Linked DNA regions of Homo sapiens: regions 1 and 2 are each linked to region 3. Evidence: promoter capture Hi-C in 16 types of primary human blood cells and fetal thymus (Javierre and others, 2016). All regions are on one chromosome and are shown on one strand. Each heading gives the region's core, a stretch centred on a gene start or on the middle of the fragment in contact. The rest is flanking DNA. Distances are from core to core; before and after follow the strand shown.

Evidence for each region. Contacts are between HindIII fragments. The CHiCAGO score rates a contact against its expected background, and 5 or more counts as called.
Region 1: a contact is called between the fragment with the promoter of SCFD2 here and the fragment with the promoter of COX18 in region 3, in 1 of 17 cell types (monocytes). The highest score is 6.5, in monocytes.
Region 2: the fragment with the promoter of REST here is called in contact with the fragment with the promoter of COX18 in region 3 in 1 of 17 cell types (total B cells); the score reaches 5.5 in total B cells.

Annotation. Positions count from the first base shown.
Region 1 is chr4:53,364,196-53,367,441 of GRCh38, forward strand. It overlaps SCFD2 (sec1 family domain containing 2), which reads right to left and starts at 1,866. Exons shown (of 9, transcript NM_152540.4): 1 at 909-1,866. The coding sequence starts at 1,746. RefSeq lists enhancers at 1,292-1,341, 1,562-1,761, 1,782-1,831. The HindIII fragment of the contact is 6,997 bases long and covers 1-2,546 here.
Region 2 is chr4:56,906,643-56,909,506 of GRCh38, forward strand. It overlaps REST (RE1 silencing transcription factor), which reads left to right and starts at 1,258. Exons shown (of 4, transcript NM_005612.5): 1 at 1,258-1,571. RefSeq lists enhancers at 715-1,644, 2,575-2,864 and silencers at 741-1,035, 1,135-1,524, 1,635-2,484. The HindIII fragment of the contact is 2,443 bases long and covers 803-2,864 here.
Region 3 is chr4:73,067,754-73,071,018 of GRCh38, forward strand. It overlaps COX18 (cytochrome c oxidase assembly factor COX18), which reads right to left and starts at 1,963. Exons shown (of 6, transcript NM_001297732.2): 1 at 1,564-1,963; 2 at 276-376. The coding sequence starts at 1,896. It overlaps LOC112268467 (a long non-coding RNA gene), which reads left to right and starts at 2,193. Exons shown (of 2, transcript XR_002959797.2): 1 at 2,193-2,276. RefSeq lists enhancers at 1,282-1,797, 1,732-2,251, 1,798-2,314. The HindIII fragment of the contact is 3,732 bases long and covers 1-2,705 here.

The DNA of each region.
Region 1 (3,246 bases), core at 616-3,115, about 20 Mb before region 3:
ATTTTTTATCTGAAAATTAATCTTATTAAGATTAAAAACTCAAATATACCTATTTCGTTTTTTATAACTTAATTCAACTTTTTTTCTGACCGATTAAAGGGAATGCCTACCAATGTCAGTTTTCCGATTATTCTCCCTGGACTTGGAAGTGGCTAGGCTATATTACTAACAGTATTATACAACCTAATTAGAGAACAATAAAGTTGACCTTTGAAAATAACATATCAAACATCAGAAAGTGTCTTTTCTTCATCTGCTTTAAGGATTACATTTGTTTCTTTTGTGTAAATAATACATTATTACAATTTGAGATTATTTACTTAATCTTTAATACAATGAGAGCTAAAAATAAATCAATAAACATTTGAAAATATTTTCTACAATTCTATTTCATCTCATTTACTAGTAACATTTAAGTTCAGCCTCACTTTTGAACACTCATTTCCTAAACCTCAATTGTCTGTAATAATTTTATGTTTTCTTGTGCAGTAGTTTTCCTTCCGCTGGGTCATCTATTAACACTTCTCCAACAAACCAGAGTCTTCTTATGAAGGACTGTTGTGAATACTGGCATTCGTAAATTTCTAAAAATAAAATTTCCCAGGTGCACAGTTTTCCTCCCTGTCAGCATAATCTTGGGCTAAAGTTGTTGTTTAACAAGGCAATGGGCATTTATGACATTTCTACCCATTACAGCATTTAACAAATGTTATTGTAATTGCTAATTCACCTGTCTGTATTCCACTTTAGACAATAAACTCTGTGAGATTAGAGACCGTGTCCATCTAGTTCATCTTTGTATCCTCAATCTAATATATAATAAAAGGTCAATAAAATATATGCTGAATCAATGAAAGTCCCAGCAATGTGGGGAATGGTAATGAAGAACTCCAGAGCAATGCACTTACCTGTGAGATCCAGGGTTCTGTCCACAAAAACCACTGATGCCCTGCCTGCAGCAGTCTTCTTCCTGTTCTTTGCAGGGGCATAATTGGCCAGATCCGCAGCGATGACCTGACTTAAGGAACCTACAGCAAAACACTCCTCCCGTACTCCTAAATGTTCACACAGAGAACTGAGGCCTGACACTAGGCATCTGATCTGCAGCAGCAGCTCTGGGGTTAGCGTAGTGGAGTCCACATCACCCAGGCTTCCCAGCTTCCTCTTGTCCGGTCGGGCGCTATTAAGGAGGTGCACATCCTGGGGTAGCAGTGGGAAAAGGGATGCAAAAGCTGGAGTCAAGGCAAAGTGGGGAGCAACAGGGGCAAGCAATAACGGGACATGGAACACCTCGGCCGTGTAGTTCATGTTGCCCATCCATTCACACAGCTTCTCCTCCAGCTGCTCGAACACCGGCTGCTGCCCCTCCATCTCGGCCGCTGCCGCCGCTGGGACATGATTAGCTGTGAGGTGGACAGCGTGGCTCACGGTTGTGACCACCACACAATACTGGAAGTGACTGCGGCAGATGATGTCCCGTAGGATCTCCACGGTCCGGCCTTTCAGCAGGCAGCTCAGCACAAACACTGCCTTGGGCTGCTTGGCTCCACCACCAATTGCGTCGGGCTCGAACTCTCGCAGGTGACAGTCAGGACCCCCCACCGCCTCCAGGAGACGGGTGGATCCGCAGCCCCAGTGCAGGCTCTCGGCGCAGGCGGCGTCCAGGTAAACCACAGCCCGTTTCACTTTGGCCAGCACCTGCTCCCATCCTTGCTGGGTAAAGGACAGTACGCCCGAGGCGCTCATGGTTGGGGATTCGCAGACTTGGGAAACTACGGTGCAGGAACTTCTTTCAGAACTCACCGCTTCCGGAAATTGGGCTCCGGGAGACTTTGACAGTCTCCACAGTACACGTGGTCGGCCTCTGACACGCTCCCTGATGGCGCTCGGTGATGACGTTAAACTGAGCGGTGATTGGCTAGAGAGGAGGCCGGGAGTGAGGAAGGATGGCGCGGTCGGGAAAGAAGTGGGTGGGGCTCTGTGGCTCCGGGCTTCCTCAAAAGCTCGTGGAGATCAGGTGTTTCCTGAGATGGAGCTGAACTGAGTTCTTTCCGTCGCTCGGCCTGTCTGCGCAGATAATCTTCTCAGATAATCTTCTCATGTTCCTTGAAAAGTCTCCGAAATAAAAACCTAATCCGAAATTTGGTATCTTCCTTAGATATGAACACGTCTCCAAAAGTACAGCCACCTTCTCAATCTAAACTCAGAGCAACTAGAAAAAGATAATAAAAACAACCGTGTGCAATATTTTGGGTTTATAGATTGCTGTCACATACGTTATCGCCCACAAGCCTCATAACAAACCCTGTTGTTCTCATTTTCACTTTCTCCATCTTTCCTCCCTCATCTCATCGTCACTACATCTTATAGGCTTAAAAACTCTCAGAATTCAGCCCTTCCTCTCCATTTTTGCTGTCACAAAAACCCAACATCATCGCTCACCCAGGCAATGATCTCCCAACATTTTCTGACTTTTGATCTCTTTACCCTCCAATTCTATTTTCTTCCTAATAAACAAAGTTGGTCCTACAACTTTCCTGCTTAAAAGCTTCTCCTAGCCCAGTTGCCTATAGGATACATCCACACTCTTTAAAAAGCATCAACATCCTTCTTGATTTCTCAATTTCTCTCCAGCTATTCCCAACATGGAGAAAAATTGTACCGATACAATGAAGTCAATAGGCTGAACCCAAAATGTTTTATGGGTTCTGTTTGTTCCACCAATATACTTACATTACTAAGTATAATCTCTGTGCTAAGCTTCAAAGATGCAATGGTTAATAAAATTCATTACCTAATCCACAAAGAATTTACCTGGTAAACTTACCGAAAATAATCATTCCAACAGTACTGCCTGTGAGAGACTTTTTCTAACTCACCACCACTATCACCCTATCACCTCTCACTTCCCCCACCTATCAAACCACTCAATTGATACATTCGCTAAGTACTTGCCATATCATGGGGTAAGTATTAACACTATTTTCTTTAAACTATCTGTTTTGCTAAATTATGCACTAGATGCTTGGTATCCCCAACACTTATAACAGGTGTTCAATAAATGTTCGTTGAATGAATGTTCAATTAATATCCATGGCCAGGCGCGGTGGCTCATGCCTGTAATCCCAACACTTTGGGAGGCCGAGGTGGGCAGATCACCTGAGGTCAGGGGCTCAAGACCAGCTTGGCCAACATGGTGAAGCTCCGTCTCTACTAAAAGTACAAAAAATAGCTGGACATGGTGGC
Region 2 (2,864 bases), core at 8-2,507, about 16 Mb before region 3:
AGCTGGGATGTCTTAACAACTGCTTTGGGATTTTGAGCTTGCCCTTTTCACTGTGTAGAGTGTTCCTTGCCCTACTTTCCACCTGTTGAAGTTTTCCTCATTCTCCAAGGTCAGACTGAATACATCTACTGTGAAAAGTTTCTAGAACCTCTTGGGATCCATCTTCCTACTGGCAAACCCCCATAGCACTTGCTACTTATGTTGTAATACCAAGCAATAGTCAGACTTATCTAGGTCAAGTTAAGTAGGGGCTTGAACGCCACACTAAGGGGTTTAAGCTTTAAGCTTGTAGTCATGGGGAGCCACTATGCTTCTGAGGACAGGTGTGACTTACGACTGACGTTTAGGAAGGTATCAAAGGCAGACTGAGAAGCTCTTTCAGGTGTGAAAGGGGGTGGAATTACTCTCTCTCTGTTCTTTTTTGTTGTTTTTGTTTTTGTTAGCACATGACTATGGGCTAGGCATTCCGCTTGGTTATCCCGCTTCATAGACGTGAGCCCGGTTACTCCGACACACCGTGGCCCCAGGCAGCCTCCCCGTCCTCACCACCTTTTCTTCTGTCATCTGAGGGTAATTCCTCCCCTGCAGTCGTGCTTTCCGGGCTCAGCAATGACCTGCTACCTGCCACGTCTAGGGATCTGTCCCCTCAGTCCTCACGCTCACGCTTTCTGAGTCCATAACCTCCTTCCTGAAACGTTTTCTTCTCACTTCTCCCAAACTGACTGCATTCCCCCTCCGGTAGTTTGAAATTTGGAAGACTTTTTTTTTTTTTTTTTTTTTTTACCGCAGACGCTTAAAACGAAGCTTAATTAGTCAAGGACAGCTATGGGTGGAGACTTGAAGAGATCTGAAGGGTATCTTGGAGCGCTTTAGACTTGAGAGGCCGGTGACAATAGCTCTAAAGAGACCCGTCAAAGCCTGCGGATTCTTCTTTTAACAGCTCTATTCTCATGCATGCACGCCAGGGCTGGGGGGAACTTTTGTTGTTTGTTTGTAATAGAAATCGAGAAAGGGAGTGGGGCCCGCCTCTTTTCTGACCTAAGGGCAGGAGTGAGGGGCCGGGAGGATTACGGGCGGCTCCCCCTAGACGCGCCCCCAGGCGAGCTGGAGACTGGGGCACTCCTTGCTTGGTAGAGGGGCGGGGCGCGCCTAGCGGCCACGCGCGCGGGCGTCGGAGGGGGCGTGTCTCGCGGGCGCGCGCGGGCGTCGGAGGGGGCGTGTCCCGCGGGCGGTGGCGGCGGCGGCGGCGCGGACTGGGTGCGCGGCGCAGCGTCCTGTGTTGGAATGTGCGGCTGCCGCGAGCTCGCGGCGCAGCAGCGGAGCGAGCGCCGCCGAGGCCCGGGGCCCCAGACCCTGGCGGCGGCTGCCGCAGCCGAGACGGCAGGGCGAGGCCCGGAGGCCTGAGCACCCTCTGCAGCCCCACTCCTGGGCCTTCTTGGTCCACGACGGCCCCAGCACCCAACTTTACCACCCTCCCCCACCTCTCCCCCGAAACTCCAGCAACAAAGAAAAGTAGTCGGAGAAGGAGCGGCGACTCAGGGTCGCCCGCCCCTCCTCACCGAGGAAGGCCGGTAAGTGGGGCGCTGGGCTGGGGGCTCGGTCAGGGTGGGGGAGGGCCGCCCGGGCGGCGGCAGTGGCGGGACGGGGAGGGCGCGGAAGGACGCGGAGTCAGGCGCTGTCCAGGGCTGATTTGCAGATACTGTGGCTCCGGCGGCGGCGGCCCCGCCGGGCGGGGGCTGGCGGCCGAGCAGGATCGGGTTACACAGCAGCCGCCCGGGGGCTGGGGGCGTTTGTTGGGAGCAGCGCGTCGCCTGGACCCCCTCCCCACTGGAGGCTGGGACGCCGCCTCCGCGCTGGCCCGGACGCTCCACCGAGTCAGGTCCTTTGAGGCCAAGGAGCGGAGCTGCTCGGGCCCGTAGTCCTGAAACTTCCTCTGCTTCCTCCTCCTGCCCCCGGGTCCCACCGCAGCCCCGCGCCGGCCCGCGGCCCTCCTGGCCCCCTCCCCCAGGGCCTCTCCCTGTCGCCGGAAGGCGCCGTTGAGTGCGGCCGGGCGGGTTGAGTCAGCCCCGGGGCCCGGGCGGTTCCGCCTGCGGGGCTGGACAGCGATTTCTGCGCTTCAGCCGTCCGGCGCCGCTGGCCCCCGCGTCCGGCCACCCGACCGCTGGAGCTGGCGGGGCTGGGGCGCGCGTCCTGCCGGGCGCCGTGGGGGAGTGAAGTTCGCAAACTTCCGGGGCGCGGGGGTGGCGGCTGGCCCGTGTGGGGGCCCCCTCCGGCGCTCGGAGCCCGACGCCTCGCGAGGGCGCCCGCGGAGCCTCCCCGGCCCTGGGCGTTGGGCGAGCCCCGGGGCGGTCGGAGGGGCCCGGGGGCGGTCGGAGAAGCCCGGACGCCGGCTGCGCGGTAACTTTCCGTCCTCTCCCGGGACGGGGGCCCTAGGGCTGGGGAGGGGGCTGCCTGGACTCGGGGAGGACTGGTTCCGGCCAAACAGCGCCTCGAGCTTGATCCCCTCCCCCGTTTTAGTGTTGGAGAGCGCAGGAAAAGGCTCAGGACGAGTGTCGGGGCGACTCCCGCGAGTTGGTGTGTAAATGTGTGCAGTGAGCGGGCCGAGGCGAGAGGAAGCGAGAGCGCCCGAGTTTGCAAAGAGCTGCTTTGTGTTTGGTATTTTGAGAAAATGGCCGAATGCCTATTTCAGTTAGGAATGCCGCCGCCGAGGCAGGCGCTGGTGGCAGCAGCACGGAGGAATTCGTGCAGCACGTTGGGCTTTCGGGCTGTGCCTGGACGGTCTTCCTAACAATCGTTAAAATTCCATTTGGGGTGGCAGTTAGGGGTTAGGGAGCAATTAGAAAAGTCGATGTTGGGCCAAATTA
Region 3 (3,265 bases), core at 713-3,212:
TCGCTTGAACCTGGGAGGCAGAGGTTGTGATGAGCCGAGATCACACCATTGCACTCCAGACTGGGCACCAAGAGCAAAACTCCGTCTCAAAAAAAAAAAAAAAAAAAAAAAATATATATATATATATATATAAAAAAAGAAATACTTTACTGCCAAAACTACAGAATACTCAAACTTATAATTAACATCACAATTTATGTATGTGTGTGTGTGTGTGTGTGTGTGTGTGTGTGTGTATGTGTGCGTATGGTCTTACGTGGATATAATTAGCTTACCTGGCATCTCTTTTGGACCACCCCAACTGATTTGCACGAACTGCAACTTCTTGGTTAAGATGCCTGGCAATAGTTTTTATTTCTGGCTGCAAATTTTCCACCTAGCTAAAAAATAGGTTTTGTTATGAGCACATAAAGGATCTTTATTCATAATGACTCATAATCTTTCACATTATTCCCTCGAGTCATTTAAAAATGTAGTTTACTGATCATATCAAGAAATCTTAATTCTAAGCACAAGATGTTAATTTGCTTAAAATGTCCTCAGTCACAACCAAATTCACAATGCATACTTATCCATGTGATCCTGTGCAAGTAACTTAACCTCTAAAATCATGTTCCCTCACATATAAAATATATAACAGCACCTACTTCACAGGGTTACAAATATTAGATAAGAACTGCACCCTGGGCTTTACTGTTCCATCTCTACATTTCCTAGTAACGTAAGCGGAGAAAACAGCAGTTTGTTAAGAACCTTTAATACACTGTGATAGCCACAAATCAAAAGTAAAAATAGCATTTATTCCTGCCCTGTGCTCATTCTTCCTGTAAAATGGCTCACTGCCTTAATGTTGCTGCTGATTCCGTTCCTGTTTTGTTTCCGGTTTTTTTTCCCCATGCTCACAACCTGAAAACAAGAAAGCCACTATTTTTGAAATATCCCATTTGAATAATCAAGCACTTTAACCCGTATTATCTGACTTGCTCTGATAACGCTGTGAAGTAGGCAAGGAAGGTACTGCTAGCCTGATTCCTCAGAAAAAAGGATTCAGCATTAAAAGGTCAAGTAACTGCGACCAACCAGACACAGTCTTAGTCGGGTCTGGAGAGGAAACAAGTTCGCAAACTGTTAGTCTAGTAGTTTCTTCCTAATAAGAAAGACCAGCTGGAATACTTTGGGACGAAAGACACTGCAGACATACTGGCTATTAAAACTTTTAAGACATAAATTTTGTAGGTTTCGCCAACACAATTTCTTCTGCGACTGATTTCTTTGTCTCCGTTCCCCGAGAGCAAGTATAGTAACCACTTGTGCTTGGAGCACAAATCCAGTAAGACAAAAGAAATGACAGGTACACGTGTCACAAAGTATCTTATTTAACACACCTAATGCTAGTTCAATTTTTTTTAACGCTAAAATGGTCACAATGAAATGGTCACGATGATTAAACACTAAGCACTGCAGAAGGCAACATCGTGCGATCGAAAACCCTGAGTGAATGTCGGCCTTCCTCCGCCGCAGGGGTTGCAGCGCAGGGTACGCGCACGGCTCGGCGCCCCTCACCTTGGCCAGGATGTAGTGCTGGTAGGCTGCCAAAGGCAGCGTGACAGCACCCCGTAAGGCCACGGTGGAGAGCAGAATGCTGCCCCACCAGGGCAGGCCCGTGGCGGCGTGCACGCCGAGCAGTACTTCCTCCGCAACCCGCACCGGCGAAGACGCGGCCAGGGCCTCGTACCAGCCGTTCGCATGTACTGCAGAGACTGGTGCCACTGCCCACACTGGGAGAGTGGGGCGCTTGGCGCCGCTCGTAGGAACCGGCGCAAGCGGCAGGTCCCTAGCCCAAAGCTGCAGGGCAGGGAGCGGCCGCAGCCACCGACCGCCGAGCCGGCACAGCATTTCTGCACCACGGCGGAGCCCAGATCCCGGGCCTCACAATCCAGCGGACATACACCGGCCAGCCAAGGCTGATACGCGCACGCGCCAGCAACAGCGGGCATAAAGCGCATGCGCGCCTGCCTGCAGCCGCGATTGACCTTCCCAGTCAAGCCGGTGACGTCTTGCGTCGCAGTGGATGTGACGCAAGAGATAGGAAAGTCCCGCCTTTCCCACGCGGCACTGGACAGGCCTACTGCGCACACGCGAAAGTTTCCCGCTGCTAGGGTGTAGTTAGTCCGAGGCCGGACCAAAACTGCAGAGACATGGGTGGAGCCTGCTGCCCTCCGCCAGGCTGGGTGTTCTTTAGGGAGCTCTCGCCTTGTAAAGTTCATCTACACCGTGTAACTTACCATTCTTTTTCACTAAAGCTAATAGTCATTTGTAGTGGAATTATCCTTGCTCGGTTTTTTGTGACCAGAAGCTGATCCCCAACCTCTTTACGTGCACCTGATTGCTTCCGTTAGCGATTACGATAGATTATCATACTCAAGAGTCACACGTTGCTAAAGTACCTGCTTGTAGAGAGACGCATGTTTCTTGCTGACTCTGAGTGTTAAGCACGAGGGATAGTTCAGTCTCTTGTAGATTTAATTGGCCCATCTGTTCCAGTTAGTATTTGGACCACCAACTGCAAACTGAATTTCTTCGGTGTTTTGTCTTCCATGATAAATAGCAGCAAAAATCTTATAGTAAAAGTATCATCTCTTTATTTAAGGGAAACTATCACTGGCAGTACGGTGAATTCCTTGAGTTTACTTGTATCCTATATAAGCTTTAAAGAGCCTGAACAGCAGCACTGGCTGTCTTCTGGTTTAAAGGAATACGTTGAATCTACATGGACTATATAGTTTTAACTTTTGTGTTCCTGGAAACAACAAAATGGAATGTTGTGGAGGAGTTTCCTCACCGAAGGGTCACCCCTAGACTACAGACTAAAATATGTTGTGAGGAGTAAACCTTGATTTTTATTTATTTATTTATTTACTTACTTAGGAAAAGAAGCCTCCAACAATGTTGGGTAATGTCAAACGCCAGCTATTGTTTGCCCTTCACTGTGCACCTAACCAAGGGTACCCTACGATAACTTTCTCAGGATTCTGGAATTCATCTGCTTTCCAAACTGACTGATAAATCTATACATGAATTTTTAAATGTGTTTAAACACACAGCACAACACACACTATATATAAACTTTTTCTAAAAGAAAAACCTACCAATCTATTTCTTTATCCATTTATTAAGCTAACAAAAAAGCCATCAGTTGCTACTGACTACTGTTCAGCTGTTCATAATCTGAACAGAATTTTAAAGTTATTTTTGCTAGACACAG